Regions from separate parts of the Homo sapiens genome. Here region 2 is linked to region 1. Evidence: promoter capture Hi-C in 16 types of primary human blood cells and fetal thymus (Javierre and others, 2016). All regions are on one chromosome and are shown on one strand. The core of a region is centred on a gene start or on the middle of the fragment in contact, and the rest is flanking DNA. Distances in the headings are between cores, read along the strand shown. Region 1 overlaps NF1 (neurofibromin 1). Region 2 holds the start of RNF135 (ring finger protein 135).

What was found. The method cuts DNA at HindIII sites, captures the fragments that hold promoters and counts their contacts. A CHiCAGO score of 5 or more calls a contact.
Region 2: the fragment with the promoter of RNF135 here is called in contact with a fragment that was not itself captured in region 1 in 3 of 17 cell types (megakaryocytes, M2 macrophages and endothelial precursors); the score reaches 9.1 in megakaryocytes.

Annotation. Positions count from the first base shown.
Region 1 is chr17:31,210,055-31,213,398 of GRCh38, reverse strand. The region is part of intron 12 of NF1 (neurofibromin 1); the gene reads right to left. Among named protein-coding and RNA genes, the nearest start is that of OMG, 86 kb to the left of the region's middle. The HindIII fragment of the contact is 4,171 bases long and covers 1-3,344 here.
Region 2 is chr17:30,969,039-30,972,404 of GRCh38, reverse strand. It overlaps RNF135 (ring finger protein 135), which reads right to left and starts at 1,366. Exons shown (of 5, transcript NM_032322.4): 1 at 960-1,366. The coding sequence starts at 1,331. RefSeq lists enhancers at 551-800, 829-1,390, 1,491-1,740, 1,391-1,952, 2,021-2,080 and 1 more and a silencer at 871-1,410. The HindIII fragment of the contact is 12,676 bases long and covers 751-3,366 here.

The DNA of each region.
Region 1 (3,344 bases), core at 51-2,550:
GCATTTGTTATTATACCCAAGAACACCGAAGGGTTTTAGTCCTTGCGGGGAAGAATAGCTATTTAATGCACACATTTATACTCAAGAATGTCACTACAGAAGAGAAATAGCAAAACTTCCAAATAGTTTGCTTTTTATAACTGCCCCCTGACCCCAAAGCAAATGTTTTACTAAATGATTTAATAAATTCTGGTTTTACTGTTTGCTCTCTTTCAACTGTATTTTTTTCCTCACTCTAAGTTGAGGTGTTTCACCTCAGATCAAGCTGAAACTTTGATTAAACGAATTTATTTACTTTGATGTAACTAAGTGTAACTATCAAATGGCTCTTCCCTGATGCAGCCATTGCACAGGAACACAAGATCAGAGAACAATGAGCAGGTATCAGAATTTTTCCTTAAGAATCATTTCCAAAAAACGTAAATAGAGTCATATGCCACAAAACAACATTTCAGTCAATGATAGACAATATGTAACATAGCTGAAAAATTCCTATCACTTAGTATCATAGCCATCGTGATGTCCAAGCACAATGCGTTATTGTTTGTAGTGATGCTGGTGTAAACAAATCTTCACTTCTAGTCATATAAAAAAAAAGTATAGCACATACAATTATGTACAGTATACAATACTTGATGAGAATAAATAACTGTTACTGGTTTATGTATTTATTATAATATATATATTTTGAGACCAAGTCTCACTTTGTTGCCCAGGCTGGAGTGCAGTGGCGCGATCTCGGCTAACTGCAACCTCTGCCTCCCGGGTTCAGGCAATTCTCCTGCCTCAGCCTCCCAAGTAGCTGGGACTACAGGCATGCACCACCACGCCCAGCTAATTTTTTTCTATTTTTAGTAGAGAAGAGGTTTTGCCATGTTGGCCAGGCTGGTCTCGACTCCTGATCTCAGGTGATCCACTTGCCTTGGCCTCCCAAAGTGCTGGGACTACAGGCGTGAGCCACCAGGCCCAGCCTACTATAGTATACTTTGTATTGTTATACTCCTACTTAAAGATAAAAAGTTAACTATGAAACACAGCCTCAGAAGGTCCTTCAGTAGGTATTCCAGAAGAAGGCATTGTTACCACAAGAGATGACAGCTCCACACGTTATTTCCCCTAAAAACCTTCCAATGGGAGCAGATGTGGAGGTGGAAGACAGTAACACTGATTGATGATCTTGACCCCATGTAGGCCTAGGCTAACGTGTATGTTTGTGTCCCAGATCTTAAAACAGTTTTCAAAATAAAAATTAAAATAGAACATTTTCAAATAGAAAAAACTTACAGGATATAAAGAAAAATATTTTATACAGCTAGCTATACAAAGTGTTTTAAGCTAAGTGTTATTACAAGTCAAAAAATTAAAAAATTTAAAAGTTTATATTTTAAAAGCTACTGTAAAGTTATCATATAAAAATATTTTTTATAAATTTGATATAGCTTAAGTGTAGTGTTTATAAAGTCTACAGTATAGATCCTGAGTATGAGAAAAATGCAAAAGTATTAAAAGTAAAATAAATTTAAAAAAATTTTAAGTCTACAGTAGTGTAATGTCCTAGGCTTCACATGCACTCAACACTCACTCAATGACTCACCCACAGCAACTTCCAGTCCTGCAAACTCCATTTGTGTTAAGTGTCCTATACATTTTTTTCTTTTATACTGTATTGTTACTGCACCTTTTCTGTTTGAATAAACAAATACTTACCATTGTGCTACAACTGCCTAAGGTATTCAGTACAGTAACATGCTGTTTAGTCTAGGTTTGCAGCCTAGGAGCAGTAGGCTAGACCATATATCCTAGGTATGTAGCAGGCTATATAACCATCTAGGTTCATGTAAGCAGACTCTATGATGTTTGCACAATGACTGAATCACTAAGGATGCACTCATTTCTCAAGACATGTCCCTGTCATTAAGTGATGTATGACTATATTAGTTTAATTATGTCACCTCTTAATCCCAAATATCAACATGTAAATTCTGTTCCAACATGGTTGCCTAATATGAAATGTATGACTTCAGAAATTCCAATAAATTTAATTCATCTCAAATACCTTTTAATTTTAGTGGGTTACAGAAAGTGAGGAAAAACATGCTAAAGAAGCAATGTGTTTCTTAATTAGAAATGTAAGAAAAAAATTCATTCATTCATTAGTTGATCTTCTATATTGCAGGTATTAGTAGGAATAGAAGCTGGTACATGTGATCTGGCCAAAGATGAGAGGCAATCATGTCTGGGAAGAAATTCATGAACCAGAGTCTTCAGATATCTATTAAAGGCCCAAACCACTTGTTAATTTAGACCATGTGACTGAATAACAGGCATGTAAGAAAGATCTGGTGAGCCAGCATGCCACTTAAGATAAAAAATGTTGAGAAATAACAAATACTTGTGAAAATTCATATATCTGTTATTGGCAGTTTTGAATTTTATGAAAGCAGGAGATGTTAGTTTGCAAATAGTAAAATCAGTGCTAAGACAAACATTTCAAATATTAAAAAAATACTACAAAGGTACAAAGGAGAAGTTATGGCTCAACATTCATATAAAAAGGGCCAAAGAGTTTAAATAACTAAAAAGTCAACATAAAATAATAATACTATCTTAGATTGTATTAATAGAAACAGGGTATACAAACACAGCAGTTTAATAGCTTTTATCAATTATTACATCATAGTATTATATCTGTATCACTAACATCAGATCTTAATATGGCATTTTAATTTTAAAAATTTTTGTCAGGTTGGTCTTTCCAGAAGAGAAGCAAATCAGAAACAGGAGGGTTTTTTGTTTTTTGTTTTTGTTTCTTTGAGACAGAGTCTCGCTCCGTTGCCCAGGCTGACAGTGCAGTGACACAATCTTGGCTCACTGCAACCTCCGCCTCCCGGGTTCAAGCAATTCTCCTGCCTCAGCCTCCTGAGTAGCTATAACTACAAGTGCCTGCCACCACGCCTGCCTAATTTTTTTGCATTTTTAGTAGAGACAAGGTTTCACCATGTTGGCCCAGTTGGTCTCAAACTCCTGGTCTCAAGTGACCTGCCCGCCCCGGCCTCCCTAAGTGCTGGTATTATAGGCATGAGCCACTGTGCCCGGCCTGTACGAGGATTTTGAAACCACATCAAGTAAGAAATTCATTCCTTCATTCATTCTGCAAACATGTACTAAATGCCCAATATGTATCAGATGTTGTTCAAACGTTAGGGATTCAGTGTTGATTAAGCCAGACAAAGCTACTGCTTTCATCAAGCTAACTTGCTAGTGAAGAAGGACAACTAAAGAACCTGATAAAGACACTGAACTGAATGTCAAGAAACCTCAGAACTAACTCTGGTTGACTGTTC
Region 2 (3,366 bases), core at 117-2,616, 240 kb after region 1:
GCGGTGGCTCACACCTGTAATCCCAGCACTTTAGGAAGCCGAGGCGGGCAGATCACGAGGTCAGAAGATCGAGACCATCCTGGCTAACAACGGTGAAACCCCGTCCCTATTTTTTAAAAAAAGAAAAAAACATACAAAAAATTAGCCAGGCGTGGTGGCGGGCGCCTGTAGTCCCAGTTACTCGGGAGGCTGAGGCAGGAGAATGGCGTGAACCCGGGAGGCGGAGCTTGCAGTGAGACAAGATGGCGCCACTGCACTCCAGCCTGGGCCACAAAGCAAAACTCCGTCTCAAAAAAATAAAAGGTTAAAATGAGGCCAGGCGCTGTGGCTCATGACTGTAATCCCAGCACTTTGGGAGGCCGAGGCGGACGGATCATCTGTGGTCAAGAGTTTGAGACTAGCCTGGCTAACATGTCGAAACCCCGTCTCTACTAAAAATACCAAAATTAGCCGGGCGTGATGGCGCACGCCTGTAATCCCAGCTACTCTCGAGCCTGAAGCAAGAGAATCACTCGACCCTGGGGGGCGGAGGTTGCAGTGAGCCGAGATCACGCACGCCATTGCACTCCATCCAGCCTGGGCGACAGAGCGAGACTCCGTCTCAAAGAAATAAAGAAAAAGGTTAAAATGGCCAGTTTTAATGTTATATAGATCTTACCACAATTTTACAAGTTTCAGAGAAAGAGACCGAAGATCGATTGGGAAGAAGTTGAAATATGCCAAGCTGTGTAACAGCTAAGTTGACAAGCTTTCGGAAGATGGGGAATTTGTTTTTTTCTACTTCTTCATACTTTTATGAACTTTCCAAAGTGCCTCCGAAGAGCGGAACTCGACTTTTAGACTGAGAAAAGGAACGTAAAAGTAGAACGGCTGAGGAAAGGGGTTCGAGCCACATGGGAAAGGGTCAGGCGGCGGGCAGCCCGGGGGAGCCAGGGGAGCTGCGGGCCCGGCCTCCCTACCCGCTGCAGTTCCGGGCGGCGCCGGGGCCTCGCGGCCGCGCTGGAGAGGGAACTGGAGCCCGGGCAGGGGCAGTGGGCAGGGTCGGAGCCCGCCTGTATCTCGCGTGCGGCGCGGCGGTACTTGTCGGCCAGGTCCTGCAGTAGCGTGTTCTTCCGCAGGTGCGGCTGCTGCGCGGCGCCCTGGCGGCAAGTGGGGCAGGCCCAGCGGCGGGCGTCGCGGGCGCCCCACAGGGCCTCCAGGCAGTGGCGGCAGAAGCTGTGGCCGCAGGGCAGCGTGGCGGGCCAGTCCAGCAGCCCCTGGCAGATGATGCAGCCGAGGTCGTCCTCGGCCAGCCACACGGGAACGGCGGAGCCCAGGCCCAGGCCCGCCATGGCCAACAGGCGGCCGGGGCGCGGACGTCGGGGTTGAGCCGGGCGAGTCTCCTCAGGCTCCTCCCTCGCCCTTCCTCTTCCCCTTGCCCTCCTCCTTTTCTCGGCCGCCTTTTCTCCTCCTTCCTTGGCGCCACCCCGTCTCCTTCCTCCGATCCTGCTGAAAACAGACTTAGAGCCTCCAGTGCCCAGCTGGAAAGACAGAGCTGACCTTCAGTGGCGGCCTCTTGCCCTGGGAAACCAACATGCCGCGAGCTGCTAGAAACCCGCGGAGGTCTCCAAGATTCCCTTTAGCTGGATGTCCCTCCATTAAGATGCAGCACCGTTGGATGTCTTCGTCCGTTGGCTTAAAAAAAAATAAACAACAAAAAAGATGCAACACCGACAACTCTTGGGAGGAGAGGACTCCATTCAGCAGCTTATTTATGAGAATGAGCCCACGAAGTGTCATCCAGCTCCTCTAACAAGTAGCAGGGGATTAAAGATCACCGATGCACAGCCACAGGGAGCGTCCTCAAAAATGCTGATGTTCGGCCCCGCTCGCAGGGAGTCTGATTTCATTGTCTTGGGTGGAGCACGGGTATTTTGTAAAACCTCCCCCAGGTGATTCTGACGCGCATTCAAGGTTGAGTGAGCGAACCCTTGGCTTTTTAACTCGCAGGTATAATGCAGAGTTGTGCGCTGTGTCCTTACCGCCTTCTGCGGGATGTAAGCGCGTTTCCCAACAGACACTCGGACAAAATTCTAGAAAGTGTTTTCCTGAGAAGGCTCACTCACTCACTCACTTCGCATCCCAGTCCTAAACGCATTGCAACCAGAAAATGTTAGAGCTAAAAGAGCACCACGTCCTCCCAGATGACCCAAAGAGGTTAAAAAAAAAAAAAAGAGAAAAAAGAAAAACTTGCAGGCTCTCATGGTAACAATGAAGCGTCAGAGACTAAAACCCACAACTCCCCAATCTGTTGAAATGAACTAACAACGTCTCATGCTTTACTTTATCCTTTCTGGCCTGGGCTCAAAGTAGGTATCAGATAATACAAGTTTGTAGCCGACCTTTGGATCACTTGAAGTCAGGAGTTCAAGACCAGCCTGGCCAACATGGTGAACCCTCATCTCTACTGAAAATACAAAAAGAAAAGAAAAGAAAAGCCAGGCGCCCTGGCGCATGCCTGTAATCCCAGCTACTTGGGAGGCTGAGGCAGGAGAATCTCTTGAACCCGGGAGGCGGAGGTTTCAGTGAGCCAAGACTGCGCCACTGCACTCCAGCCTGGGCGACATAGGGAGACTCCGTCTCAAAAAAAAAAAAAAAAAAAAAAAGAAAAAAAAGAAAGAAAAGAAAGAAAAAAAAGCGTTTGTGGTTATTTCTAATACTGGAAGTGTCATGGAGTAGGCAGCGCTGCTCATCAACGTTTCCAGTGCTTTCCCTTTCTGGGCACATGGTAGGACTGGCACTTCCCTGACCCACTTGAAACACACAGAGGTAATATGTTACTTCCCACCAGCTTTAAAGGCGACTGAGCCGGCCATTGTATCCCTTTCTGCCAGCTGCCCCAATTATGGAGATGAAACCATCATCCGGTGACCTGGGTCACTGAGTGGCTAAGATGAGCAGACTCCCTGCCAACGCACCCTAGGATACGTAGTAAGAGGGAGAAGAAAACTAGGATGTATTCAGCTTACTGAGATTTAGTGGGTGTGTGCTGCTACAGCATAACCTAGCCTATCCTGACTGATGTATTACCTGGATCTTGTTCTAGAATCTCCGCATCGGAGTAAAATCGTAGTTTCTAAGAGCCTCTTTTTTTCTGTAAAACGGGCATGATACTAAACACTTAAACATGCTCAGATCTTCCAACTTAAAAAATGAAATCACTGGCGGGGCGTGGTGGCTTATGCCTGTAATCTCAGCACTTTGGGAGGCTGAGGCAGGTGGATTGCCTGAACTCAGGAGTTCGAGACCTGCCTGAGCAACATGGTGAAACCTTGCCTCTACAAAAAAAATACAAAAACTACCTAGACATGGTAGCGCAGGCCTGTG